7 separate regions of the Homo sapiens genome follow, and all the other regions are linked to region 3. The links are contacts of gene promoters, found by promoter capture Hi-C in blood cells and fetal thymus (Javierre and others, 2016). All regions are on one chromosome and are shown on one strand. Each heading gives the region's core, a stretch centred on a gene start or on the middle of the fragment in contact. The rest is flanking DNA. Distances are from core to core; before and after follow the strand shown.

Region 1 (4,379 bases), core at 375-2,874, 150 kb before region 3:
AATATATAGAGATGCAGGAAACCCTTATTATTAGAATTAAAAGGGAAAAAATACATTTGAGTGCAGTCAAATGGCACAACTGGAGCTTGCATAAAAAAACGCATGTTGGTTTGCCAGAAATGTGACTCCTACTTGTACTATTGTTAGCAAAATGTCATAGAAGTTTGTTTGTTTATTTGTTTGTTTGTTTGAGACGGAGTCTCATTCTGTCACCCAGGCTGGAGTGCAGTGGCACGATCTCAGCTCACTGCAACCTCTGCCTCCCTGGTTCAAGCGATTCTCCTGCCTCAGTCTCCTGAGTAGCTGGGATTACAGGCATGGACCACCATGCCCAGCTAGTTTTTATATTTTTAGTAGAGACTAAACCTAGTAGATGACCAACATGGTTTCATCATGTCGGTCAGGCTGGTCTTGAACTCCTGACCTCGTGATCCACCCGCTTTGGCCTCCCAAAGTGCTGGGATTACAGGCATGAGCCACTGCGCCCAGCCAAGTTTATTTTTTTTAAGTCTCCCAACTAACCCCACTTTGACCATAGTCTTTCAAAAGCTTGAAGTTAATTTCTCAAATAATATATTTACTGTTTTAGCTTTATTTTTAAGTAAAAATGCTTGAAGAGTAGAAATCAGTGTTCTCCTTTCCTGGAGCTTCTGAAATTGTAAAATTGTGTGATTTTATTTGTATGCATTTTTAAAGAGGCTTAGTTTACGTAGCTTTCATCGGATTTTCAAAGGAGGATTTTATATATATGTGTATATATATACACACATACATACATATACACACACACACATATAAAACCTAAAGAGAGAAAATGAGGAATTCCTGCTCTAGACAAAACTGAGAATCTTGGTCTTCATGCTACAGCATTAAGGAACACCATACTAATAATCCCTTTTTCTGGGGTAGTATTGTTAGCACTGAAATGTGTATCATTCATTCCCTCACTAAGTCATTTCAGAAACACTTAGCACCTGCTATACGTCAAGGTCTGGTTTGCAAAGATAAAGAGTTGTGATGATGATCCTATGGTGTTTGGAGATATAGACACATAAAAATTTCAATGATTTCTTACAGTGGGGTAAGGATAAGGGATAGAGGTTGCATAAACAATAATCCAGGCTGGGGGCTGGTATGGCAATAAGTGATTATCAGAACAATGCTCTGAGATAAGCATTATTAACCTCACTTTACAGGAAAGGGAGGTGAGGAACCAAGAGTTTAGAGTACCCGAAGTTCCACATCTGGTTAGTGAACTTGAAAATTTTCTGTAGAATTTATTTAAAGTGTATGTTTCCTGCGTCCTCACTTTGATCTAGAAAATCAAAATCTGTTTTTTTTTTTAACAAACATCTCAGTAATTACGCCAACATGTGAATATCACTGCCTCCTTTCTTCCTTTCAGAATATGGCCCAGTTTTCTGTTTTATTACCAAGACATTAAAGTAGCATGGCTGCCCAGGAGAAAAGAAGACATTCTAATTCCAGTCATTTTGGGAATTCCTGCTTAACTTGAAAAAAATATGGGAAAGACATGCAGCTTTCATGCCCTTGCCTATCAAAGAGTATGTTGTAAGAAAGACAAGACATTGTGTGTATTAGAGACTCCTGAATGATTTAGACAACTTCAAAATACAGAAGAAAAGCAAATGACTAGTAAACATGTGGGAAAAAATATTACATTTTAAGGGGGAAAAAAAAACCCACCATTCTCTTCTCCCCCTATTAAATTTGCAACAATAAAGGGTGGAGGGTAATCTCTACTTTCCTATACTGCCAAAGAATGTGAGGAAGAAATGGGACTCTTTGGTTATTTATTGATGCGACTGTAAATTGGTACAGTATTTCTGGAGGGCAATTTGGTAAAATGCATCAAAAGACTTAAAAATACGGACGTACTTTGTGCTGGGAACTCTACATCTAGCAATTTCTCTTTAAAACCATATCAGAGATGCATACAAAGAATTATATATAAAGAAGGGTGTTTAATAATGATAGTTATAATAATAAATAATTGAAACAATCTGAATCCCTTGCAATTGGAGGTAAATTATGTCTTAGTTATAATTAGATTGTGAATCAGCCAACTGAAAATCCTTTTTGCATATTTCAATGTCCTAAAAAGACACGGTTGCTCTATATATGAAGTGAAAAAAGGATATGGTAGCATTTTATAGTACTAGTTTTGCTTTAAAATGCTATGTAAATATACAAAAAAACTAGAAAGAAATATATATAACCTTGTTATTGTATTTGGGGGAGGGATACTGGGATAATTTTTATTTTCTTTGAATCTTTCTGTGTCTTCACATTTTTCTACAGTGAATTTAATCAAATAGTAAAGTTGTTGTAAAAATAAAAGTGGATTTAGAAAGATCCAGTTCTTGAAAACACTGTTTCTGGTAATGAAGCAGAATTTAAGTTGGTAATATTAAGGTGAATGTCATTTAAGGGAGTTACATCTTTATTCTGCTAAAGAAGAGGATCATTGATTTCTGTACAGTCAGAACAGTACTTGGGTTTGCAACAGCTTTCTGAGAAAAGCTAGGTGTTTAATAGTTTAACTGAAAGTTTAACTATTTAAAAGACTAAATGCACATTTTATGGTATCTGATATTTTAAAAAGTAATGTTTGATTCTCCTTTTTATGAGTTAAATTATTTTATACGAGTTGGTAATTTTTGCTTTTTAATAAAGTGGAAGCTTGCTTTTTTAACTCTTTTTTTATTGTTATTTTATAGAAATGCTTTTTGTTGGCCGGGCACAGTTGCTCATCCATGTAATCCCAGCACTGTGGGAGGCCGAGACGGGTGGATCACAAGGTCAGGAGATCGAGACCATCCTGGCTAATGCGTTGAAACTCCGTCTCTACTAAAAATACAAAAAATTAGCTGGGCGTGGTGGTGGGCACCTGTAGTCCCAGCTACTCAGGAGGCTGAGGCAGGAGAATGGTGTGAACCTGGGAGGTGGAGCTTGCAGTGAGCAGAGCTTGCAGTGAGACGAGCTTGTGCCACTGCACTCCAGCCTGGGCAACAGAGTAAGACTCAGTCTCAAAAAAAAAAAAAAGAGTGAAATGCTTTTTGTTTGCTTCAGTTTTTTATCATGGGGAGATCTTTTTCCTCAGAATTGTTTTCTTTTCACTGTAGGCTATTACAGGATACTTCAGGATCAAGATACAGAACCTTTTATTTAAAGAGTTTGTAAAGTCAATGTGTTTGTTTGTGTCTCTGAGATTGACTTCAAGATAATAAGCTGCTAATTGTAAACAAAACAGTTACCCTCCAGTATTAATATGACTCATTAGTGTGAGCCATTTGGGTCAAGTATGATTATGACCCTTGGACTTCCTGATGTAGTATTAAATTTCAACTCTGGTTATCCATTAGCAATCTGTAGAGAACTTAATGAACCTGAACCCAGGCTTCTCTAGCTCTGGTAACGTGTGATTGTTTTCACTACAATATGATACATAGATGGTACCTTACTTTTCCTCATTCTTAATAGGTGTCTAAGAATGTCAGGGCAAAAGTATGGGCATTTTTCTTGCTATGTTCAGAAAGTACAGTTCTCTCCAACTTGCAGAGGTACTTTTCTTGATTAAATAGCCTTCTCTAGCAACATCATTTTCAGACTAACTAAATGAATGCAGTATACTCTTTTCTTTGTTCTCAATCATTCACTCCTTATGCAAAGCCAATATAATTTTCCTCATACCTTATGCTTGAGGATATTGTTGAAGAACACTTCCTGGAACACTTCTCACTTGTGATGCTGTACTAATTTTTTTTTTTTAATTTAAGCTAGTATACTAAGTGAACACCATGGTCAGTTGTGAGCATTTTGGTTTCCGCAAAGGATGGATGGTGAGCATCATGGGAAAGCTGTAGTTTAGTGACTTAGCCCTTAGTGATTAATAGATTTGCATGTACATAGAAGTCTTTGTTGGCCTTATAATCTGCTGTTATATTTGGCATGGATTTTCATGGTTTTGAGAATGACATCCTGGCCCTGTGGTCCCCGAGGGTCATGGTCCTTGTGACCTGGCCCCTGTTCACTGCCCCCTTCGCTAGCACGAGTTGCTGTGCAGGGCTGGAGGTAGCTACCATGGCTTGTTTCAAGGAAGGAAACTCTGGTACGGTGGCACCCTCAGGAGTGGAGGACAGTGAACTTCCTTGAAGAGGGAGTGACTAAGGTGACCTCCAACCTGCCCTGAGCCAGCTGCCCTGCAGGTGCCACGTGAGCCTGCTCTGGCATCCACAGGATGCTCCTGGAGCCTCTTCTCTGGCTGCTACCTCAGGGCATGGTTGTGGCCCCACCAACACCTATTTTCCAAATAATTATTCATTCTTGTGACAGTGGCCTGAACATGTTTTTAATTT
Region 2 (4,251 bases), core at 1,613-4,112, 150 kb after region 3:
TGGAATAAATTCAATAAAATGACATAGTATGGTTACAATGTCTGTCTACAGAGTCAGGGCAAGAACAAAGAAAATTGAAAGAAGATTGTTTTAGTGTAGTAAAATTACTGGATAATTTTCATTTCCTTTGCTCTTTAAAGAATTATTTGTAAAGGGTATTTGAAATGAAAACAAGATTGGAGAAAAACAACTTGGAAGAAAATCATAGGCAAATAACAATAATGATTGAAGAGTTGTGAATAAGGAGAGTTAGGAATCAAGTGGTTCCAGGCTTGCAGAATCTGAAAGGAGCCTAGAGTGAGGAGGTTGATCTGTGAAGGATGATGATGATCTCCATTAAGGACCAGACAGGAGGCAATAGGCTTAAGCTGCAGTATGAGGGATTTAGATAAGAGAAAAGGAAAAATTTTCAGACAGTGAGGTTCATAGATACTGGAATGTGTAACTGAGGAAGCTTGTGGAATTTCCTTCTCTAGAAGTCTTTTAAAAATAGGGCAGTGTCTCATCTGCCTGAAGGATGGACTCTATTTGACCTCTCAAATTGTCTACTGAACTCAGAAGGTGAACCACACCTTAGATAAGAAAGAGAGCCTGAATGATCCTGGGTAGCTTGAGTAATAAAAGTAGGGTGAACAAGTCATATTTATTTTGATTTATATATGTCATATATGTAAATTATGTCTGCTATAATTCCTTTTTTTCTTTCAATTGAATGTTTTCATTTTTAAGGCCTAGAGATTAGAGTTCAAGTAAAGATATTATAGGAAAGCAAGGAAGAACTCTTTTATCTTACTGTAGAACAAATTTTTAGAGGAATAAAAGGAGAAAAGGATATATTGGACATATTTGATTTTGATTTCACTCCCTATTCTAAATAAAAAAAAATACACTGCCCTTTCTGTTAGCTTTAGTATTTTAAGGGTAAATTTCAAAAAGTTAATTTAGTGTAAGTGTTTCTCACGGTGTTTTTGGCAGAACCGGTATCCCAAACTGGAAGAGGTTCTCTGTATTTAATTTCCTCTCAGGAAGTTTACCGTCAGAAGTCCAAATGTGAGGTCAAGTTTTGGGTTGCCGGAAATGGTAATGTCCTTTACTGTCTGAACACCCAGACAACACTTAATGAAACATTCTACTTTGTGGACATTGAAAGAAATTAAAATGCTTTGTTTCCTCCTTTTTATGATTGGTGATTTCTGTATTCAGTCTTCTAAAACTCAGAAACAAGACTATGTGTAAGTAAGAGCATCTGCATTCTCAGGATCAAGTTATAACTGCAGATTTTCAGTTACAGGTGATATCCATCTTTTTTTTCCTTCCTAAAAATAAAAATGTACTTACTTCAGGCCAAAGGAGAGGCAAGCTTTAGAACTCATTAGCCTTCAAGAAAAACAATTCCAGAGCATTCTAAACCTGATTTCTTTCTAACTCTGTTTGAGTTGACCTGAGGACTTTTACAGGTTAAAGCAGTGAGTCATTATATCTCACATTCATACAGCTCTACATATTTGTCAAAGTGCTTACTCATCTAATATCTAATATGATCTTAATAAGAACCTTGTGAATGTCATTATCTTATAGATGAAAAAATGATATCTTCATAAGATACAGTTTGCTCAAGATCACAAAACTAGAAAATGTAGTTTGAACACTTCTGATTTCAAAGCCAGAGTCTTCTCCACTGCCCCATGCTGTACTGTTTTTGAGAATTTGTGATTTCCTGGTGTTGTATTATTTTTACCATTGATGAGATTTTTGCCTGTGATTTATCCTGAATCAAAATAGATACTGTGATATGATACTAAAGTAATTGTTACCAAACAAAAAGTTGTGCTAGCATTCTTATGAAGTACAGCACTAAAGATTTTCAAAACATTTTGTTATTTTTACATAATTGGTCATGTAAATTTCTGGTAGGACACTCCTTATGAGATTACAACCCATTCTAATTTATGCTAGCTATTTATTGTTAAGCAGTATGTTGTTTTTATTACAAAACCTCCTTTAATCATTGCATCAGTCTCTGGCAGAATATTAAAAACAACTCCCATAATCCCTGGCACTCTGTCCTGGGTGTCTTTGGGGGTACAGTGGCTTTATTTCCTTCCCTAATAGTTCGGAAGTTTGTTTAATACTGACTCAGAGGAAGCATTCTAGCTGAGTCCTCACATGGTCTTGTTTACAGCTCCGGAGTGTACATAATAGATAAGCTACTGACTTCCACAAGACCCCCACGCTTCCTGGGTGTGTGGGTGTGTGTGCTTGTGCTTGTGAATTAAGGTTGTGCAATCTCCCTGCTAGCTGCATCAGGTTGCAAAGTCATTTACTTCTCTAAAATATTCCTCTAGCCAGCCTGACTTGATAAACCAAAATCATTGTATTCCATGGTGGACATGCTGGTAACTCATGATAAACACTAAAAATCCTACGGGTTTATAACAAGATAAAACCTGATATTGGGGCAGGGTGTAGAGAAATTTGCCCAAGGAAATATTGTGAAATAAAGTTGCAAATGGCTATAGATGAATGCTTTTCTATCTATAGGATTTCTTTTCTTGATTGTAATTATAAATTCTTTTACTGGTTGTAAATATAATTATGATTCTTATGTTACCCAGTCTGTACCAAGAACTTTGTTAGGCCAACAACATCTTACTTGATTGTAGTAGTAACCTTAAAAGATAAATATAGGTATAATGCTTTTTCAGAAGAAAAACTGGAGAATTCAAACATGTTCTGCATTGCACAGATGGTAAATGAGTGATGAATAGGGTCCTTTGACTCCAAAGATCAACTAGGTTCTTTCCACATATCTCTCTTTGGTTCCCTTTTTTGATATGACTGTATGAAATATAATTGTATTTACATAAAGTGCAGTAGAGTTCATTAGAAAAACTATTTCTGAATCTTAGGGTTCAGACTAAAGGTGTTTGGAGGCTGATGATAGTGGGCTGCAAAGAGCTTCATGGTGGGCTGCGAATAGCTTCATCAAACCCTTGAATGTGTCAGGAAAGGCAGATTCAAGGCAGAAATGTCACATGGACCCCAGATAATTCTTGCCTGGAGGAAAAGAACATATACATAATTATGTGTGTAATCCATCTTGGACATAGTACTAAGGTGATTAAATTAATCATGATTGAGTGTTGAGTGTTAAAATCCAAATGCAAATATCCTTCAACCAACTTTTTGCACCAAAACTAAGTAGACTTTATCATCTCAAAATAGTGCTTACTAAATATAGTCACTCTTTGTAACTCTTAGTTTTAAAAACCATAATAATTGTTTCCCTCTGTTTTCTCTCCTGAGCTGCTACTGCTGCTGTTGCTGCTAAAATATAAGGTATACCATGTATCACTTTTGCAGAAGACAGCTTTGTTTTTGTAAAGTGCCTGGAATGGAGTTTGTGGGTATATTGATTGCAGGCACTGAAAGACCTAGATGAATATGTAAGAATGACCACAAGCCACCAGATGTGGGTGTATTTATCCGTTTGCCTCATTACTAAAAGGTTTTAGTTCCAAAAAATATCCAGAAGAATTTAGTTTTGGGGAACTAGAGAGGCAGGGGGAGTGGAATTAAATTTTTTGAATTTTTAAACAAGTAATTTGAGCTTCCAATTGATATATTGTAATTTCTTTGCATTGGAATACTGATTTCTTAAGGAGTAGTTGCAGAAAGATTTTCTTTAGAAATTAGAAATTGACAGCCAGGTGTGGTGGCTCATGCCTGTAATCCCAGCACTTCGGGAGGCCAAGACCAGTGGATCACAAGGTCAGGAGATCGAGACCATCCTGGCTAACACGGTGGAACCCTGTCTCTTCTAAAAATACAAAAAATTAGCCGGGCATGGTGGTGGGCGCCTGTAGTCCCAGCTACTTGGGAGGCTGAGGCAGGAGAATGGCGGGAACAGGGAGGCGGAGCTTGCAGTGAGCTGAGACTGCGCCACTGCACTCCAGCCTGGGCAACAGAGCGAGACTCTGTCTCAAAAAAAAAAAAAAAAAAAAAAGGAAATTAGAAATTGACTTTGAAATTCATTTATTATGTAAACAGGAAGATATTTTATTGCAAAGACAATTGGAAATTGGAAAGTGTAATTAGTTATTAAAACAGCAATTAAGACATTTTGTGGGCTTAGATATATGTGTGTGTTTGCCTTGGTGGCATGTGCTCTGCTCCATTTGCACATTAAATTATGCCCATATAGTTATATCTGGTATTCTGCTCCTTAAATAAGTCATTTAGTTTCATTGA
Region 3 (4,289 bases), core at 308-2,807:
CTGTTAGTATTTCAGAAAATGGTGAATTACATATATAACTTGTTTTTATAATTATTAATAAAATTTTAAGTTTTTAAGATGCACTTTACAATATTTTTGCTCCTTTAAAAATCCCTCATTTGTTATACCATTATTCTAAGAATTCAAAAGAAATGAACACTTCTTTAAAATCTATACTATTAACAAGATCCCTTAATATTAGCTTAGTTTTAGAGGGTGATAGTGAGGTGAGTACTGAATATGACCACTAGCCAACGGTAAAGTACAAAAGAGTTGTCCGAGATTGTAAAAGAAATAAAAAATATCAGTACTAATTAAAGCAGGATTCGTACTTAAACATTGAATAAGTGTATTTTAACAATGAAGATAAAGATGCATTATTTATGAAGATCCTTTGCCATTCAAAAAGGACCTAACAGTTGCTGCAGGAATATTTTTGTAATCTGGGCACTGAGTATGATAATTAAAGAATGAGAAACCTATAGAACTATATATTTTTTCTCTTATGCATCACTCATAAGACACTGCTAACATAAAAGGAACTAAGTACTGTGGTTGAGGAATCCCGTCTCATTCTCAATTAACCTCTATGAGAAAACAATACAACAGATTTCATATAGTAGCTTAGAAGTTTACATTGATTTTTTCCATGTACTATGATTTTGTAGAATTCCTTAAATCCAATCTAGAATGCGTAACTTATACTTTACTTATCTTTATCGTTGAAAGCAGACAGACAAGATAATCTTCTTCCCTAAATAAGCTTTCCTTTTCTCCTTTTCTCCCCAATTCAGTCTATTCCTTGCATCTCTGATCATGAGATGGCAGAACAAAAACCACTAAAAAAAGCTTAAACAGTGGGTTTTTCAATGTCTCTCTTTAGGATTTTTGCTGGGTAAAAGCCTGTTTTACGCGTGGAATGCACACCTCCGGCCAACGGAGACTCCTGTACAAATCTACATCGGCGATCTAGGTTCCAGCCCCGATCCGCCGAGGCCGCGCCCCGCGTTCGCGCGCCCCCTGCCGGCGAGGCCCTGGGGCCCCAGCTACCTGGATCGCGCGCCTCCCGAAACGGTTGACTCCGTTGGGATCCGCGCCGGCTTCCAGGAGCTGTCGCACCTTCTCCACTAGTCCCCGCGCCGCGGCGCTGGCCAGACCCTCATCGCTGCCGCCCCCACTGGGCATGCCCTTGTTCTCCTCGCGCATTCCGCAGCCCCCAGACGCGCAGCGGCCCGGATAATCCACCGTTGGCCGTAAACTTAACGACACTCTTCCCTTCTTTCCCACGCTGCTCCGGCGCACTCTCTCCTTCCTAGGAGACCTGGGCTCAGCTTCATTACCCTCCCGTCGTCCTTCTGCGGCTTGGGGCCCCGTGCAGTGGCCGAGCGGCCGGTCGTTAGCTCCGGGCTTTTCCTGGCGCTCAAGAACCAGCGGGCGCGCCTGGATTGCTTCTGGGAAAAAGCGCCTAGCGCGGACGCAGCCGAGCTCAAAGCCGCTCTGGCCGCAGGGTGCGGACGCGTCGCGGAGTCCTCACTGCCCCGCCTCGCTCTGGCAGAGTGGGGAGCCAGCCGGCAAAGAATTCCGTTTTCAGCTGGGCCAAGGGGCCGGCGTCTCCCCACCCCCTTAGGCTCCGCCCCCTGTCCGCTGTGATCGCCGGGAGGCCAGGCCCGGGCCGACGCGTCACGAGGGCGGGGAAGCCTGCCCAAAGATGCTAGGACGCATGCGCCAGAGACTGGGCCAGGGAGCCGCCAGGAATGCTGGCTGCACTGCTCGCTGGATGTCCAGTAAAGCCAAGGCTAATATTTTGGGAATGTTCACCACTGCCCTCAGCTCCTAATCCCCAGTAGGCGGAGCAGAGGATTTCTGTTCCTTCAGCCAGCCAGTTGGTTTCACTGTGGAGACGTTGGTGGCTCCCTTGTGACCGAGAGAAAGTCATTCAAAATAACTCCGTGTTTCTTAAGATGTCTGAAAGCGACAGCTCTGCACCTGTCATACAAGTTAAATTCATCCCCAGGCAGTACTTGGGCTTCACAAGTTTCATAACTTGTATCAAACTTAGCAATTTTCTCTTGGATGTGTCTTTCTGTTTGAATTAGTCAACCATAAAAATAGAGAAAAATCCCGAGAATCATGTTTTGCGTGTGCTTTTTAATTCTTTCCATTTTTGCATTATGGATACAACCCTTAAAAGAGAAAAAAACTAGTTCGAGATTGAGAGTGGCAACCTGGCACACATAAGACAAAAAAAAATTATACTTTAAGAATCTGAGATCCCAGTTTCATCATATTTGTACAGTAAATCTTTGTTTGCACTCTTACCTATTTAAACCCACTTTGTCAGGTATCTTATTTTTATTTATCATGAGTAATAAAGGAAATTTATGCAGTAATAATGAAACATCATAAGAGAGGGGTGTGGTGCTGGGCTTGTCATTAAACAGGCTGAACCTGTCATTAAATTCTCTTCTGAAGATTTAAATGCCAAGTGCTTTTTTTCCCCTTCCTAATCTTCCTAGGTGAGTTTGAATCAACATTTATTACTTAAAATATTTAAAACATTTCAGCGGATGCTACATTGGATAGGAAGAGAACCGCAAGTTATGGATTTGTTGCCTAAAAACTTTGGTGAGGAACTGCATAAGTGGACCTCTCCTAAAAGTGAACAATTTTTGTTTACAGAATCATTTTGGTTCGGAGTGCTGAGGAAGACAAAGTCTTAACAGGAGGGCAATTGCTTGTGTATTGCAAAATGAGAGTCTTCACATGTTTTTTTTAGGATACCTTAGCTCTGACTCCTCATCCCCCAAATCCCTGTAGAATTAAAAAAAGCTCTTTCTTTTAAAGGCAGTGGAAGTGCCACCACCATGGAAGTGCTGGTTAGGGCTGAAAATCTACTGACAGAGCCTCAACAGAGCTGAAATCCACCTGGACAGGGAAGGGAACCGGGTAGCATTAATAACAATTTCTTTTTCTTTCCCATCCAACCCCCATTTCCTAGTCTTCAGTTTCTTAATTTCTCTACCTTTTACTCTTATGCTCTTGTTTTGACCTTTGAGTTTCTCTGAAACTTATCAGAAAAGTTAGGACAAGATAGTCTGACCCAATTCTTGAGCCATTTTCTTAGGTAGTAAATATGTCAGAAAAATGAAAGCTGTTTGGAGTTGATAAGGAAATGGAAGATAATGTTTTTCTTTGAGGGGGACATAAAGAATGGTGATAGGGAAAGAACCAATGACTAAGTAAAATGACTGAGAATCTTGCACGAGGCAGATGTGTGAGCTTCGCGAAGCAAGTTGACTGAATGAAAAACAACTTTGGGTAGGGAAAACGTTGCCGGGGGCATTCGCGCTTACTAGCACCACGGACAGCGCTTTGCTTATACTCAGGCCTGGGTGGTCCTAACCAGCTCCAGACAGAATTCTAAAGCTTCACACTTGATCTTCCAAAGCCCCTTTTCTCCCGTCAAATAGAAAGGACATTATGGAAGCTCAATGAATTTCTTTGAAAAACCAACCTGCTCAACCTGGTTTTCAAATATGATTGGATTTTATCTAATATTCTCTGTATAAAGAATATTATATAGTCTATATTTAGAAGACGAGAAGAGAAATCAAACTTATTGTGTACTCTGTACGAAGTGCTTTACAGCTGTTGTTTCATTTAATACTCATAAAACTCCTCTGTGGCATGTGTCCATATTTCAATTTTACAGACAAGCCAAAAGGATCAGAGAATTTGAGTGACTTGTATACTAGCTAATCATTGTTGGAGGTGGGTATAACTTTTGCGACTTCAGAGTCTTTTTACCCTTTATACTACATAGTGTTTTTTTTAGCAGCTGTCATGGTAGGCTTAACTGGAAAAAAGTAATAAACTGGCTTATAATTATTTTTCAGTCTACACTGTGTTTTCCAGATGGCTCACCTCACAGCACACCCTTACCAGACTTCAAAGATGACATTTCACATGTAATACAATAGCACATTTGTCTTGGACAATAGAGTGAGATTATGAAACATTTTACCTCTCCTTGAAACCCAGCTGTCTCTAGGGTGAAACACAATCTGTTGTTAATGCTTTAAACACATTTAAAAGATGAAGTGGATGGGAACATAGTGGGCAGCTGAAACTTGGAATTGTCAGAGCCATGTCTTTTAATAAGGTGGAGAATTTATAATTGAGAAGAAAGAAAGAGAAAGTTAATGGTAAATTGGCATAGAATTTTGGAGGTCAGTAGAAGGGAATGAGTGGCATCCATTCCAATGTTGCACATAACTCAGATCACTAGT
Region 4 (4,249 bases), core at 82-2,581, 190 kb before region 3:
TACGTGTTGATAGGACTCAACTTGTGTAACCTGACCTGAAAATTATTTAATGCAGATGTTCACTGAATTCTTAATCCTGGAATTTTTTTCTTGAGGCCTACTTTATTTTATTTAGTTACCCTTGTGACAATAGATTTAAAGCTTTTCATTGAAAAACAACAATGCTCAGGTCACTTCGCATTAATTAGGTTTCTAATAAAGTTAGCCTGGCACTGTTTACTCTCTAGGAGGTACCAGCCCAAGGAAATTTCCCTAATGATTTGTTACTTATTTTTAGTTTTAACAGTTTAGTTAATTTTTATTTATTTTTGTAATTGTTCTTGTTTGTCTTTCTTAATCATCAAATTAGATCAACTCTCAGAGGATAGTGCTAGGTTTCTTTAACTCAGACAAGGACTTTCAAGATAATCTCTGAAAAATGCAATACAATGCATGAACTTAAAAAAAACTTATAACTACCTTTTGAATTATTTATATTTGCATAAATGTATTTACTGAGTAATATACATGAGTATGCTATATGTATATTTACAACATGTAAATATGAATTTGCATACATATATGAATGATTGTTTTCATAAATGTATATGCGGGTAACTTTTCATGCAATTTCAGTCTCCTCTGTCTGCATTCTCTCCTAGCTCTGTGATTCTAATGGCGTGGGAAAGATAATCTCTCATTTCTTTATCAAATAGAACAGTGAGGAGAAATCAATACCAAATGGAATACCTAATATTTTATATCCCAGCAGTCTTCTGAACATTGTTTATTCTATAGTCCATTTGACAGAGAAACAAAATTGATCAGAAGGTACTTTCCACTACCATACTTGCCTACTTTTAGGTTTGATTTTCTACCTTGAGTTGGTTAAAATACCTCTCTATGCTGACTTGTAATTCAGACAGTCAGAAGTAAATGTGATGTAGTCCAAAAAGGTGCCCTACGTTTTGGTTACTTATAGAATATAGAAGGCCTTCAAATGTTTGTTGATTTTTATGGAAGGCTTTGAAATATTTGTTGATTGATGTTCAGTAATTTTCAGATTTCAAAAAAATAACTAGGGCTTGGCAGGAATGGAGAAGAGCATATGAATAAATGAATTTGCTTAGAATCTTATTTCTAATAAAAATTACCAAATACAATAATCTTCTCTGTCTTTTTCTCTCTTAGATTGGAATAATTGGTGGAACAGGCCTGGATGATCCAGAAATTTTAGAAGGAAGAACTGAAAAATATGTGGATACTCCATTTGGCAAGGTTAATATCCAACTTGTGGAGACATGTTTTTTAGTTTTTTCATTTCTCCTTGCTGGCTTGATTTTTGAATTAAAAAAAAAAAAAAGAATTGCTTTTGTTTTGGCAGCCCAGGGCTGTCTGCTCCCAGCAGAGAGGGCCAGAAGTTCTGCTGTTGGGTTCCATCAGCTGAGAAGGTGTCTGATGGGCGCCTCACACTTTGATGTTTTGAGAAAATGGCTACTTAGTATGTAAATCACTTCTCATTCTGTTGCTGGAAATCAGATACTCATTTCAGACCACAGACTCATTTCAGACTGTACTTTTCAAATCTACATTCAAATCTTCTAATTTGTGGCCAATAGGTCACACCACACTAATTAGGGGACAGGCTGATGACTAATAGGATGAATTATTGTTACGAAGCGGCATTTGAGTGGAAAGAATTGTTTTGGGGAATTAGAACATACCTGATGTTAGTTGAATGTGTAACTGAGCTAGAAATAAAATGCTCCTCCTTTTATAGGAGAGGTTGCTTGTTCTCCAAGCCCATGTCACTCAGCCTAGGCCGGGGTGAGGGTGTCTGCATTCTCCTAATTCCATATTGCTACGTCCTCTGGTCCATCTGTAAGATCTCTCTATCTGGCTGTCCCAACCAAACCCTCCTTTTCAGCTAAATTCTTAGGTTGACCTTGTGTGCTCCCAGTCCTGCAGTCATCCTGGTTCATTTTCTTAAACCCCTCGGTTCTAAGGGTCTTTCCAGCCTTTGTTACCTCAAGTCATTTCCATGATCATCTTAGACCTGGTTAACACAAGCAGACATTTCCAGTGCTGAATTCTTAGTGTCATGATGGTGGCTTGTTATCCTTTCTGCCTTTCACCTTCACACCTGTTCTCAAACCTGCCCAATAACCTTGACACATCTAAATTTGACCAGTCTACCATCAGAGTTCCCTGGGGTACTCGTTACAAATAGATCTGACTAAATGGTACCTACACAGGTGCCCATGGTAACCTTGAGTCCTGTGAATCTATGCCTGCAGAGGGATCAATAAGTAATTGATTAAATGATTATATTGATAATCAGATCTTGCCTCTTCTCTAAGTTGTATCCTCAGACTCTTCAGATTCCATGAGTCCTGTTGTGGTTGAACAATTATAATTTACATACCTGTTTTTAAATCACTGAGTTAAATGTCATTTTTTCATTGCATGCAGCCATCTGATGCCTTAATTTTGGGGAAGATAAAAAATGTTGATTGCGTCCTCCTTGCAAGGTATGGTATTTTAAGCTTTTTGGATGTTACTACTAAAGGATAATTTAAATTTAACTTAAATTCTGGAAAGAGTAAAGATACAGGTCTGAGCTTTTATATGTTGGCAGAATCAGAACATCTTAGTAACCTTTATTTACAATGTTTTATTTTTGGTTAAGTTATATTGACTTAGGAGATCAAAGATCTCATGCTCTTGCCCCTTACATTGGGAAAGTAGATCAGATGACTAAAATCAAAGCTCTGGTTTTAGTTCTAACTGCAAGAAGAAATGTTTTGTTCATTTTTTTCCCCCTTCTTATAAAGATAAAGAAAAACAATGCATCATTAATGACCTCTTGCTGGTAGTAGTTATATGTCTGTGGGAAGTAGGCTTAGGGCTTCTGAAGTGGGTTACTTGTGTCTGTGCTGTTGTTTCCTTAAGGAGGCTGGTGCTGCTCCATATTACAGAGGAGGCCAAGTCATTTTTATCCCATTGTTAGAAGTTAGTCAAGATATATGTATGAGTTCTCTACTGTTGTGTAACAAATTACCACAAATTTAGCAGCTTAAAATAGCACACATCATCTCCTAGTTCCTGTTGGTCAGAAGTCTGGCACAGCTTAGCCAGTCCTCTGCTTGGGGTTGCACAAGGCCCCACAAGGCATATTCAAGGACTGAGTCCCCATCTGGAGCTTGAGGTCCTTGTTCAAGCTCGTGTAGTTGTAGGAGAATTCACTCCCTAGAAGTTACAGGGCGGAGGCCTTTGGCTCCTAGAGGTGGTTCACATTCCCTGCCGTGTGGCCTGCTCCACAGGCTGTTCACTTGACTGCAGCTTGCTTCTTGCTATTAGGATATGGCAAAGGTGCTAGAAGTCACCTCCATGGTTAAGCTGTACCTTGCAAGCATGCAGGAGTCCGGCAGGAGAATCTCCTATGCATGCTTGCAAGGTAGAGCCTAATCGTGGGAGTGACTTATAGCACGTTTACCATTTTTCTATTGGCTGAATGCAAGTCCCAGGTTCACTGATCCTTTATACAGAGCATGACAGTGGGGTCCTCACTAGGGTCTGTCTGCCACTCTACATATTTGAAACAGGAGTGGCTTCTCAGAATCCAGTGAACCTAAATTTTAGTTTTAGTTGCTCACTGGACTGGGTTCTAGGAGACCCCCTGTGTTAGTCTGTGGTCATTGCTAGAGAATCACTTAATTTTTTCTAGACTCTAGGAGAAAACAGTTGGTGGTGTACTCATCACGGGTTAACAATTTCTTCTCTCCTTCCATAGGCATGGAAGGCAGCACACCATCATGCCTTCAAAGGTCAACTACCAGGCGAACATCTGGGCTTTGAAGGAAGAGGGCTGTACACATGTCATAGTGACCACAGCTTGTGGCTCCTTGAGGGAGGAGATTCAGCCCGGCGATATTGTCATTATTGATCAGTTCATTGACAGGTAAGCAGTCATACAAAATGCTTTAGGCTATTGTAGCTGGTCATTTTCAGCTCAAATGGACGACGCGTGGGAACCGGCAGGGCAACTGGGAGGGCAGTGCCACAGACTCGCTTGCTTTTTTTTTTTTTTTTTTTTTTTTTTTGGAGACGGAGCCTCACTCTGTCTCCCAGGCTGGAGTGCAGTGGCATGAACTCAGCTCACTGAAACCTCCGCCTCCCAGGTTCAAGCAATGCTTCTGTCTTAGCCTCCCGAGTAGCTGGGACTACAGGCACATGCCACAATGCCCAGCTAATTTTTGTATTTTTAGTA
Region 5 (4,169 bases), core at 125-2,624, 190 kb after region 3:
AGCATGACTGTTGTTGGTGTATAGGAATGTTTGTGATTTTTGCATTACTAACATTTTTCTATCTCAGAAGACAAATTGATTTTTGTATCCTGAGACTTTGTTGAAGTTTATCAACTTAAGGAGCTTTTGGGTTGAGGTTATGGTGTTTTCTAGATATAGGATTATATTATCTGCAAACAGGGACAGTTTGAATTCCTCTGTTCCTATTTCAATGCCTTTATCTTTTTACTTTCCCTGATTGCCCTGACCAGGACTTCCAATGCTATATTAAATAGAAGTGGTGAGAGAGGGCATCCTTTTCTTGTGCTGGTTTTCATGAGGGATACTTCCAGCTTTTGCCCACTTAGTGTGATGTTGGTCATGGTTTGTCATAGATGGCTCTTATCATTTTGAGGTATGTTCCTTCAATACCTAGTTTATTGAGAGTTTTAACATGAAGAGGTATTGAATTTTATTGAAAGTCTTTTCTGCATCTATTGAGAGAATCATGTGGTTTTTGTCTTTAGTTCTGTTTATGTAATGAGACAAATTTATTGATTTGCATATGTTGAATGAAGCTTGCACACCAGAGAAAAAGTCTACTTGGTTGTAGTGGATAAGCTTTTTGATGTGCTGCTGAATTAGGTTTGCTAGTATATTGCTGGGGATTTTCACATCAATAGTCATCATAGACATTGGCTTGACATTTTCTTTTTTCATTGTGTCTCTGCTACATTTTGGCATCAGGAAGATGCTGGCCTCATTGAACGAGTTAGGGAGGAGACCTTCCTCATTAATTCTTTGGAATAGTTTCAGTAGGAATGGTACCAGCTCTTCTTTGTACAACAGGTAGAATTCAGCTGTGTATCTGGCTTTTCCCGAGCTTTTGTTGGTTGGTAGGCTATTTATTACTACTCAATTTCAGAGATCATTATTTGTCTGTTCAGGAATTTAATTTCTCCTTGGTTGAGTCTTTGGAGGGTGTATATGTCAAGATATTTATGCATTTCTTCTAGATTTTCTAGTTTACATGCATATACATGTTGATAATATTCTCTGATGATTATTTGTATTTCTGTGGGGTCAATGGTAATATCTCCCTTGTTATTTCTGATTGTGTTTATTTGAACCTTCTCTCTTTTCTTCCATATTAGTCTAGCTAGTGGTCTATTTTATTATTATTTTTTAAAGTTTTGTTGATGTTTTGAATAGTTTTTCTTGTTTCAGTCTCCTTCAGTTTATCCCTAATTTTGTTTTTTTTTCTTATCTTCAGCTAGATTTGAGATTCTTTTAGTTGTGATATTAGGTTGTTAACTTAAGGTCTTTCTAACTTTTTGATGTAGGGATGTAGCACTATAATTTCCCACTTACACTCTCTTAGCTATGTCCCAGTTATTCTGGTATGTTTTATCTTTGTTCTCATTACTTACAAAGAACTTCTTCATTTCTGCCTTAATTTCATTATGTACCCAACAGGCATTCAGGAGCATATTATTTAATTTCCATGTAATTGTATTGTTTTGAGTGAATTTCTTAGTCTTGATTTTTAATTTGATTATGCTATGGTCTGAGAGACTTTGTAAATGATTTTAGTAGTTTGCATTTGCTCAGGAGTGTTTTATGTGCAATTATGTGATTGATTTTAGAGTCTGTACCATGTGACAATAAGAAAAACTTATAATCTATTGTTTTTGGGTGGAGAGTACTCCAGATGTGTATCAGGTCTATTTGATCTAGTGCTGAGTTCATGTCCTGAATATTTTTGTTAATTTTTTTGTCTGGATAATCTATCTAATAATGTCAGTACAGTGTTAAAGTCTCTTACTATTATTATGTGGGAGTATATGTCTCTTTGTCAATGGGGTTCTCTGCATTTCCTGAATTTGAATGTTGGCCTCTCTAGCAAGGTTGGAGAAATTATGTATAATGTCCTGAAATATTCTTTCCATGATTCGTTCCTGATATAGTTTGGTTGTGTCCCCACCCAAATCTCACCTTGAATTGTAATAATTCCCATGTGTCAAGGGTGGGGCCAGGTGGAGGAAATTGCATTAGGGGGGCAGTTTCCCTCCTATTGTTCTCATGGTAGTAAATAAGTCTCATAAGATCTGATGGTTTTATAAAAGGGAATTCCCCTGTACACCCTCTGTTGCCTGCCACCATTTAAGACAAGCTTTCGCTTCTCCTTTGCCTTCTGCCATGACTGTGAGGCCTCCCCAGCCATGTGGAACTGTGAGTCTATTTAGCCTCTTTTTCTCTATAAATTCCTCTGTCTGAAGTATGTCTTATACAGCATGAGAACTGACTAATACAGTAAATCGGTACTGGTAGAGTGGGGTGCTGCTGTAAAGATACCCAAAAATGTGGAAATGACTTTGGAACTGAGAAACAGGCAGAGGTTGGGTCAGTTTGGAGGGCTCAGAAGAGGACAGGAAGAAGTTTGAAGGGAAAGTTTGGATCTTCCTAGAGACTTGATGAATGGCTTTGACCAAAATGCTGACATTGATACATGGACAATAAAGTTCAGGTTGAGGTGGTCTCACATGGAGATGAAGACCTTGTTGGAAACTGGAATAAAAGTGACTCTTGCTATGTTTTAGCAAAGAGACTGGCATTTTGCCCCTGCCTTAGAGATTTGTGGAACTTTGAACTTGAGAGAAATGATTTAGGGTATCTGGTAGAAGAATTTTCTAAGCAGCAAAGCATTCAAGAGGTGACTTCGGTGCTGTTAAATGCATTGAGTTTTATGTATTCGCAGATTTATGCTTTGGAACTGAAACATGTTTAAAAGGGAAGCAGAGCACGAAAATTCAGAAAATGTACAGCCTGATGATGCAATAGAAAAGAAAAACCCGGTTGCTGAGGATAAATTCAAGCTGGCTTCAGAAGTTTGCATAAGTAATGAGAAGCCAAATGTTAATCACCAAGACAATAGGGAAAATGTCTCTAGGGCCTGCCAGAGGTCTTCCAGAAGCCCCTCCCATCACAGGCCTGGAGGCCTAGGAGAAAAAAGTGGTCTTGTGGGCTGGGCCCAGGACCTTGCTACATTGTGCATTCTCATGACTTGGTGCCCTGTGCCCTAGCCATGGCTAGAACTCAGGCCATTGATTCAGAAAGGGTGCATGACCCAAGCCTTGGTGGCCTTCATTTGGTATTGGGCTGTGGGCGCACAGAAGTCAAGAACTGAGATTTGGGAACCTCCACGTAGATTTCAGAGGATGTATGGACCTGGAACACACAGGTTCCAGAGGCAGTATGGAAACGTCTGGATGAACAGGCAGAAGTTTGCTGCAGGGGTTGGGCCCTCATGGAGAACCTCTGCTAGGACAGTGTGGAAGGGAAATGTGGAGCTGGCACCCCTACACAGATTCCCCACTGGGACACTGCCTAGTGGAGTTGTGAGAAAAGGGCCACCGTCCTCCAGACCCCAGAACGGTAGATCCACCAACACCTTACACCACGTACCTGGAAAAGCCACAGACACTCAATGCCAGCCTGTGAAAGCAGCTGAGAGGTGGGCTGTACCCTGCAAAGCCACAGGGGTGGAACTGCCCAAGAGGGCATGGGAGCTCACCTCTTGCATCAGCAGGACCTAGATATGAGACGTGGAGTAAAAGGAGATCATTTCAGAACTTTAAAATTTGGCTGCCCTGCTGGATTTTGGACTTGCATGAAGCCTGTAGTCCCCTCCTTTTGGCTGACTTCTCCCATTTGGAATGGGTGTATTTACCCAATGCTTGTATCCCCATTGTATCTAGGAAGTAACTAACTTGCTTTTGATTTTGCAGGATCATAGGTGGAAAGAACTTGCCTTGTCAGATGAGAATTTGGACTGTGGACTTTTGAGTTAATGCTGAAATGAGTTAAGATTTCAGGGAGCTGTTGGGAAAGCATGATTGTTTTTGAAATGTGAGAACATGAGATTTGGGAGGGGCTAGGTGTGGAATAATATGGTTTGGCTGTTTCCCCACCCAAATCTCACCTTGAAGTTTAATAATCCCCACATGTCATGGGAGGGACCTGGTAGAGATAATTGAATCATGGGAGTGGTTTCCCCCATACTGTTCTCACAATAGTGAATAAGTCTCATGAAATCTGATGATTTTATAAAGGAGAGTTTCCCTGAACATATTCTCTTGTCTGCCACCATGTAAGACTTCCCTTTGCTTTTCCTTTACCTTCTACCATGA
Region 6 (3,943 bases), core at 340-2,839, 220 kb after region 3:
GGCTCATAAAGTATTGACAATGATTGTTTATCTTTCTGTCCATCCCTGATACAAGCATTGAGAACTTTAAGTATGGCATTGGCAGCATCCCAGATTGAGATGTGGCACTTTCATGATTTTATTCTTTAGATAGTCTATTGCATCCTAAGTTATCTTCCTTAACAGTAGTATATTTAAAGAAGAATTCACTCTGCTGAACGTGATAAGAAACAGAACTCAGAAAGAGGGACACCTAGAGGATGAAAACAGAAGATACAATTTCAGTTGCTGATAATGTGATATTATGCCCAAATTATTCAAATAAAAAATTCTTAGAATTAGTTGAATTGAATGACTAAAAAAATAAACATTTGCAAATTGATTTCATTCGTCTATACCAACAATTAGAAGATAAAAAGGCGGGGAGGGACCAAGATGGCCTATTAGAAGCAGTTGTGGTCTGCAGCTCTCACAAAATGGCAAGAAAATTCTGCACCTTCAACTGAGGTATCCAGATTCTCACATGAGAGCCTTGGGTATGAAGCACAGAGTTGTGCAGAGTCTCAGCAGAGTGGCTGCTCCCTCACTTTGGCACGCAGGGAAACTCAGGGGTTTTGCATACTCTAGCCCTAGGAATTCCAGCAAAGAATCCTGTGCATTCCCCTAGGAATGGGGCTGAATCCAGTGAGCCCAGTGACATTGTTCTGCAGGCCCCATTCCCATGTCACCTCACAAGTTAAGAAGCACTGGCTTGGAATTCCAGCTGGCCAGCAGCAGTAGGCTGGAAAGGGCCTGAGACCACGGAGTTTTCTGGGGGAGGGGCAGCTGCCATATCTGTGGTTCCAGTCTGATGCTCTAGCCTGCTGGCACCGGGACCAGAAGAAATTGCCCACAATGCAGCACAGCTGTTGTTCCTGAACATGACCCATCTGCTTCTTCTGTGTTTTTGTTGTTGTTGTCGTTGTTGTTGTCGTCACCCAGGCTGGATTGCAGTGGCGGAAGCTCGGCTCACTGCAAGCTCCGCCCCCCAGGTTCACACCATTCTGCTGCCTCAGCCTCCCAAGTAGCTGGGGCTACAGGCGCCTGCCACCTCGCCTGGCTAATTCTTTTGTATTTTTTAGTAGAGACGAGGTTTCACCGTGTTAGCCAGGATGTCTCAATCTCCTGACCTCATGATCTGCCAGCCTCTGCCTCCCAAAGTGCTGGGATTACAGGCAACAGCCACCAGGCTTTTTTTTTTTTTTTTTTTTTTTGAGAACGGAGTCTCGCCCAGTCACCCAGGCTGGAGTTAATGGCCTGAACTCGGCTCACTGCAGCCTCAGCCTCCTGGGGTCAAACGAGTCTCCTGCCTCAACCTCCGGAGTAGCTGGGATTAAAGGTGCCCGCCACCATGCCCAGCTAGTTTTTTTTTTTTTGATGGAGTCTGGCTCTATCACCCAGGCTGGAGTGCAGTGGCACAGTTTTGGCTCACTGCAAACTCCGCCTCCTGGGTTCAAGCGATTCTTCTGCCTCAGCCTCCTGAGTAGCTGGGATTACAGGTGCGCGCCACCACACCTGGCTAATTTTTGTATTTTTAGTGGAGATGGGTTTTCACCATATTGGCCAGGCTGGCCTCAAACTCCTGACCTCAGGTGATCTGCCTGCCTTGGCCTCTGAAAGTGCTGGGATTACAGGCATGAGCCACCACACCTGGCCAATTTTTGTATTTTTAGTAGAGACAGGGTTTCACCATGTTGGCCAGGCTGGTCTTGAACTCCTGACCTTGTGATCCGCTCACCTCGGCCTCCCAAAGTGCTGGCATTACAGGTGTGAGCCACCGTGCATGGCCCCAGTCTGCTTCTTTAAGTGGGACCTGCATCCATCCCTCCCCACTGGGCAGGGCCTCCTTGCCAAATTTCAGCAACTCTAGCCAGGGTTATATGAACTGAACTCTGATTTCTCCCTGGGATGGAGTCCCTTGTGGGAGGGGCAGCCAGCTGTCTCTGTGGTTCAGCCAACTTATTTTTTCCAGGTTGCTGGCTCTGGAGAGGCCAGGTGGTCAGCGCAGCATACTTGATCTGCCAAGGGGCAAATGGACTGCTTCCTTAAGCAAGTTACTGATCCCATTTCTCCTCTCTGGGTGAGACCTCTCAACAGGGGTCTGCAGACACCTCCTACAGGAGCCTTCAGACAAACAGCGGACCTCTCAGTGGAAACCCTACAAGCCAGAAGAGATTCAACATTCTTAAAGAAATGAATTTCAAACCCAGAATTTCATATCTGGCCAAACTAAGTTTGATAATGTTGGGGTGATCAGACCCAACACCGGGTCATGGGGGCGACGAAGTCCGGTGGAGTCAAAGGATTGAGAAAAAGACAGTTTGAGAAGTAAAGTGGGACCAGGGGGCCATCGCGATTGTGGAGGCTGCAAAGGCCCTGAGCTCCGGGAGCCCATGCTATTTATTGGTAATCCAACAAAGAAACAAGTGGTGAGAATGTGGGGGTCAAAAGGGCAGGCACATGATCTACAGCTGTGATGGTTTAGCATTTATAAGGAACATGTTCTGCTACTTGAGATAATGGGAATACAATCAATCTAGGAGCCTAGGAGGCTAGAAGCAAGGAGCCAGCAAGTCTAGACACATTCCCGAGGACATTATGTCAGACATGCCCACCCTGCCTCAGTTTTTTTCCCAACACTCAGCTTTTTCCCAACAGATGAGCAAAGGAGAAATAAGATTATTTTCAGACAAGCAAATCCCTAGGGAATCCATCACCACCAGGCCTGCCTTGCAAGAGCTCCTGAAGGAAGCACAAAATATGGAAAGTAAAGACCATTACCAACCACTACAAAAACACACTGAAGTACAGACACCAGTGACACTATGAAGCAACCACATAAACAAGATTGCAAAATAACCAGCAAGCATCATGACAAGAGAATCAAATTCACATATAACAATATTAACTTTAAATGTAAATGGGCTAAATGCCCCAATTAAAGGACACAGAATGGCAAGCTGGATAAAGAGTCAAGACCCATCACTATGCTGTCTTCAAGAGACTCATCTCATGTGCAAAGACACACATAGACTCAAAATAAAGTGATGGAGGAAAATTTACCAAGCAAATGGAAATCAGAAAAAAGCAGGGGTCACAATCCTAGTTTCTGGGAAGACAGACTTTAAACCAACAAAGATGAAAAAAGACAAAGAAGGACATACATAATGGTAAAGGGTTCAATTCAACAAGAAGAGCTAATTATTCTAAAGATATATACACACAATACAGGAGCACCCAGATTCATAAAACAAGTTCATAGAGACACTCAAAGAGACTTAGAATCCCACACAATAATAGTAGAAGACTTTAACACCCCATTAACAATATTAGACAGATTATTGAGACAGAAAATTAACAAAGATATTCAGGACTTAAACTCAGCTCTGGATCACAAGGATCTGATAAATATCTACAGAATTTTCCGCCCAAAACCAACAGAATATACGTTCTTCTCATTACCACATGTTATTTACTCTAAAATTGATCACATAATCAGAAGTAAAACCCTCCTCAGCAAGTGCAAAAGAACTGAAACCATACCAGTCTCCCAGACCACAGCACAATCAAATAAGAACTCAAGATTAAGAAATTCAGTCAAAACCATACAATTTCATGGAAATTGAACGTCTGCTCTTGAATAACTTTTGGGTAAATAATTAAATTAAGCCAGAAATCAAGAGTTTCTTTGAAAGTAGTGAGAACAAAGGCACAACATACCAGAATCTCTGGGACACAGCTAACGTGTGTAAGAGCGAAATTTATAGCACTAAATGCCCACATCACAAAGCTTGAAAGATCTCAAGTTGACACCATATCATTACAACTAAAAGAGCTAGAGAACCAAGAGCAAACAAATGCCAAAGGTAGCAGAAGACAAGAATTAATGAAGATCAGAGTGGGACTGAAGGAGACAGAGACACAA
Region 7 (4,392 bases), core at 1,135-3,634, 220 kb before region 3:
TATGAAATGAAGAGCTCATCCACGTGCCAGGAAGGTGGTGCACCCCAGCTGAATGGGAACAGAAGTTCCTGTGCTCAGGACCCTTCTAGACTTCACTTTATGTATCTTTTTATCTGGATATTTATTCATATCCTTTCAAATACCCTTCATAATAAATCAGTAAACGTGTTTCCCTGAGTTCTGTGAGCCACTCCAGCAAATTAATCGAACCCAAAGGTGGGGGGAGGAGGTTCACGGGAACCCCAATTTGAAGCCAGTCAGTCCGAAGTTCCAGAAGCCTGGACTTGCAACCGGGGGGAAGGAGGGGATGGGCTTGTGGGAGTAAGCTCCTAACCTGTGGGATCTGATGATTTATCTGGGTAGATAGTTGGAATTAAATTAGAGGACACCCAGCTGGGTCCTCCTGCAGAATTGACTGCTTGCTTGCTGGAGGGGGAAAATAAACACATATTTTTGGATCACAGAAGTCTCCTGTGTTGATTGTTATGGTGTGAGAGCACAGGAAAAATGGTTTGAGAGTTTTTCCTAAACAACATGATATACACGTACCAAAATATCACTGTATCCCACAATACATACAATTATTTTGTGCCAACTAAAAATAAAAGGAAAAACAAGAATTTAAAAATCCTAGCATGGTACTGGCATAAAAGCAGACATATAGAACAGTGGAACCCAACAGAAATTTCAGAAATAAACTCCTATTTGTGGTCAATGTAGTTTTGACAAAGATTTCAAGAACACACAGTGGGTATAATGACAGTCTCTTCAATAAGCAGCGTTGGAAAAACTGGATATCCACCCACAGAAGAATGAAATTAGACCCTCATCTCACTCCATATACAAAAATAAACTCAAAATAGATTTCAGATTTAAATGTAAAGCCCAAAACTGTAAAATTTCTAAAAGAAAACGTAGAGGAAATGCCCTGTGATACTGGTCTGAACAGTGGTTTCTTGGATACAACATAAAAAGCATAGGAAATAAAAGAAAAAATAGACAAATGAGACTGTATCAAACAGAAAAATCTTCTGGACAGCAAAGGAAATAATAGAGTAAAGGAACAACCCAAGAATTCGGATAAAATATTTGCAAATCTGTCTTCTGATAAGGGCCTAATATCCAAAATATATAAGGAACTAAAACAATTCAGTAGCAAGAAAACAACCTGATTTAAAAAATGGGCAAAGGACCAAAGTAGACATTTCTCAAAAGAAGATAAATGGCCAACAGATACATGAAAAACTATTCAACATCATCAATCATCAGGGAAATGCAAATTAAAATCACAATGAGATATCAAGTCATTTCTATTAGAACGGCTATTATCAAAAAGATGAAAGAGAACAAGTGTTGGAGGGGGATGCGGAGAAAAGGGAACCCTTGTGCACAGTGGTAGGAAGGTAAATTAGTATAATCACTTCAGAAAACAGTACAAAGTTTCCTTAAACAAACAAAAATACAATTACCATATGATCCAGCAATTCCACTTCTGGACATACATCCAAAGAAAATGAAATGAGTATGTCAAGGAGATATGTGCACTTTCATGTTTATTGAAGCATTGTTCACAATAGCCAAGACGTGAAATCAACCTAAGTGTCCATTATGAATGAATGGATAAAGATGATACACAATTGAATATTATTCAACCTTTAGGAAAAGAAGGAAATTCTGCCCTTTGTGACAATGAGGATGAACCGGGAGAAAATTATGCTAAGTAGAATAGGCCAGGCAGAGAAACACAAATACTGTACTGCATGATCTTACTTATATATGGAATCTAAAAAAGTCAAACTCATAGATGTAGAGAGTAGAACGGTGCCTACCAGAAGCTGGAGATTTGGAGGTAGTGATTATTTGAATGGGGAAAGGGAAGATGTTGATCAAAGGGCACAAAGTTTCAGTTAGACAGAAGGAATAAGTCTGTGATCTATTGCACAGCATGGTGACTATAATTAAGAATAATGTTTTATATATTTCAAAATTGCTAAAAGAGTATATTTTAAACGTTCTTACATAAAGAAATGCTAAGTATCTGAGATAGAAAATATGTCAGTTTGATTTAATTATTCTATAATGTGCATATATGTTCATATATAACATCTCCTGAATATATACAATTCAGGATATATATATATATACATATGTCTCCTGAATATATACAATTATTGTCAATTAACAATAAAATTAAGAAAGATATAGCAAGCAAAAAATACTCCTCTTCCACTTTCCCTCAGTACTTTACAAATACATTTCCCACTGCATTCTTATGAAGTGCTAGTTTAGTAATTAGTAAGCCTCTTTATACTTCACCCTCATTTTAAGTCACCGTTTCCATCTATTTTCCTTTACTGAAATCTGCCTATCCTTTCACTCTACAGCTTTCTCTTAAGGAGGTTGTTATTTTTCCATTCCCTACATACTAGGGGACTGTGATGAAGGGTAGCAATCTCCTGGTTTCTCATTGCCAACTCCAGGTTGGTTTGCTTCCATGGCCTCTAGAAAAACTAATGCTATTAGAAGGTGGTCTCTTCCATCTGGCTCTACCATCCTCTGATCATCCCTGTGGCTTTGATTTACCAGCCCCTCCAACAGCTGGACCTTGTATCATGGTCTTCGTCTTACCCCAAGTCCTATCTGCCACAGTTCTAGGAGATGTAATATGAATGTAGACAATACACACATGGAGATTTAAAAAAAAACAAACCACCTTCCCCCTTTCCCCCATCTGACTAATTCACTTGCTCACTTCTTGGATCTTTCCATAACCTTTAGAACTTATTACTCTTCTAAAACCTTGAGCTCCGATATCTCCCTCCAGGACCTCCTCTCCTTCCCTCTTTCACATTCCCTCACCCTACCCTCATGGCTCTTAGACTCCTTTAAGTCCTCCAGTCCCTTGATCCTCCACCCCCTTGATCCTCCACCTTCCCCCATCATCCAGGTCCTTCATGGCTTCATTGTTCCCCACAGGGCTGGATTTCTTTGATTGATAAGATAAACTTATACTTCCCCAACATCCTCAATTCCTTGAGGTCCTATCTGATCAGACAAGGGTGAAGGGCTGTCAGAAAAAATTACACGCCCTTGCAGATTGGTACCATTTCTAATTCATGGTCCCTAATCTGACATGGTCAAATCTTTGTCATCTTTTCTCAAACTCATTATGCAACCCTTATCTCTTACTTTGTTAAGAAAATTATACCATCAAGAGTCGTCTTTCTTAGGTTCACAGCACCTACTCTTAAACTATCTAGAGGCCCCATTCTTACCTCCTTTCTTCCAGCCCCATGTCTCCATTCTAATAGAGGACTATGATTTCTGTCAGAGCTTCTGATCCCATTCCTCTGGGATCTTGGGCCATTAGCCATACCTCTCTTAGTGTCTTCCATTTTTTCTTCTTTGTGAACTTCTTTTCACTTGCTTACAAACACGCTCAAAACTCTCTCCTTAGTAAAAGAAAAAAAAAATACCCCATTGACTACCTATCCTCTGCTGTTCATCTCCCAGTATCTCCTCCCTTTTCATCCAGACTTTATGAAGTACAGGTTTGTTGTTTCTTTTCCTCACCCACAGGCTGTTCACACTCTCTCCAATTTGCCAGAGTTTCGCTCTTGAGGCAATAGTCCATGTGAATTTTGTATTGGGTATTTGAAAAAAAAAATTCCGGAGTAAAATAAGGGTGAGAGCTCTGTGTGTGAAGAAGTATTTAAAAGCTATTTGGGTTTTAAATTGTATTAAAAGTCAGAAAATTTAAAAACAAGTCTTCCTTAAGCATTTCTGTTCAACTTACAAATCTTTTTATACTGTTTACAAGTTGAGTATAATGAGAAATATCACCTTTACTTTTTTATTGATTACTGTATTAGCTATTTTTGGATTAACATTTCTAAATTGAACAGAATAATTTTCCTCAATACTTTAATTATATTCGATTAAATATTTTAAACAGTTTTTCAAAAATTTGACTTTAATTTTTAAGCATTTCAAATGTCTGACAGGACAAATTTACAATACCTATAAACAAAATGTTTCCGAGAACTCAGATAATGCTTGAAATAAAATTATTTATACTCAGGAAATATAACAAATCAAAGTACCTTATATAATCTGATAATATACGGAAACTTAGTCAAATTATTTTTGCCTTTTAGCTTAAAATCAAACTTAAAATCAATTGCATATTCAATTGGAATTATGAGGATAACCTCTGAAATTCTATGTATTTTATATACTGTATAAAGTTTTAAATAAGAAACAGAGTTTTTCTTTAAATTTAGCACAAATGCTATGTTTGCTTTATTTCGACATTTCTATATTTAATTCAAAACCATCCCATGGTGGAAAGGCACTTACCTAGAGTGACCATAAAATATATCTTCTAAACTG

The links. Contacts are between HindIII fragments. The CHiCAGO score rates a contact against its expected background, and 5 or more counts as called.
Region 1: a contact is called between a fragment that was not itself captured here and the fragment with the promoter of CDKN2B in region 3, in 4 of 17 cell types (erythroblasts, megakaryocytes, total CD8 T cells and 1 more). The highest score is 6.1, in erythroblasts.
Region 2: a fragment that was not itself captured here is called in contact with the fragment with the promoter of CDKN2B in region 3 in 4 of 17 cell types (M0 macrophages, M1 macrophages, M2 macrophages and 1 more); the score reaches 10.9 in M0 macrophages.
Region 4: a contact is called between a fragment that was not itself captured here and the fragment with the promoter of CDKN2B in region 3, in 17 of 17 cell types (megakaryocytes, M2 macrophages, endothelial precursors and 14 more). The highest score is 51.0, in megakaryocytes.
Region 5: a contact is called between a fragment that was not itself captured here and the fragment with the promoter of CDKN2B in region 3, in 3 of 17 cell types (total B cells, naive B cells and M0 macrophages). The highest score is 11.4, in total B cells.
Region 6: a contact is called between a fragment that was not itself captured here and the fragment with the promoter of CDKN2B in region 3, in 6 of 17 cell types (M2 macrophages, M0 macrophages, naive B cells and 3 more). The highest score is 13.7, in M2 macrophages.
Region 7: a fragment that was not itself captured here is called in contact with the fragment with the promoter of CDKN2B in region 3 in 9 of 17 cell types (monocytes, fetal thymus, non-activated CD4 T cells and 6 more); the score reaches 6.7 in monocytes.

Annotation. Positions count from the first base shown.
Region 1 is chr9:21,860,571-21,864,949 of GRCh38, forward strand. It overlaps MTAP (methylthioadenosine phosphorylase), which reads left to right. Exons shown (of 8, transcript NM_002451.4): 8 at 1,406-4,379. The coding sequence ends at 1,444. Among named protein-coding and RNA genes, the nearest start is that of MTAP, 60 kb to the left of the region's middle. The HindIII fragment of the contact is 2,154 bases long and covers 548-2,701 here.
Region 2 is chr9:22,156,992-22,161,242 of GRCh38, forward strand. No RefSeq gene overlaps it. Among named protein-coding and RNA genes, the nearest start is that of CDKN2B, 150 kb to the left of the region's middle. The HindIII fragment of the contact is 3,008 bases long and covers 1,359-4,251 here.
Region 3 is chr9:22,007,748-22,012,036 of GRCh38, forward strand. It overlaps CDKN2B (cyclin dependent kinase inhibitor 2B), which reads right to left and starts at 1,558. Exons shown (of 2, transcript NM_004936.4): 1 at 1,051-1,558. The coding sequence starts at 1,206. The region is part of intron 1 of CDKN2B-AS1 (CDKN2B and CDKN2A antisense cis and trans regulatory RNA 1); the gene reads left to right. RefSeq lists silencers at 900-1,099, 3,223-3,517. The HindIII fragment of the contact is 2,577 bases long and covers 848-3,424 here.
Region 4 is chr9:21,814,263-21,818,511 of GRCh38, forward strand. MTAP (methylthioadenosine phosphorylase) reads left to right here. Exons shown (of 8, transcript NM_002451.4): 2 at 1,171-1,257; 3 at 2,452-2,510; 4 at 3,773-3,940. Among named protein-coding and RNA genes, the nearest start is that of MTAP, 14 kb to the left of the region's middle. The HindIII fragment of the contact is 2,384 bases long and covers 140-2,523 here.
Region 5 is chr9:22,195,053-22,199,221 of GRCh38, forward strand. No RefSeq gene overlaps it. Among named protein-coding and RNA genes, the nearest start is that of CDKN2B, 190 kb to the left of the region's middle. RefSeq lists an enhancer at 2,304-2,363. The HindIII fragment of the contact is 1,552 bases long and covers 599-2,150 here.
Region 6 is chr9:22,228,526-22,232,468 of GRCh38, forward strand. No RefSeq gene overlaps it. Among named protein-coding and RNA genes, the nearest start is that of DMRTA1, 220 kb to the right of the region's middle. The HindIII fragment of the contact is 4,433 bases long and covers 1-3,806 here.
Region 7 is chr9:21,790,962-21,795,353 of GRCh38, forward strand. No RefSeq gene overlaps it. Among named protein-coding and RNA genes, the nearest start is that of MTAP, 9.5 kb to the right of the region's middle. The HindIII fragment of the contact is 8,774 bases long and covers 1-4,392 here.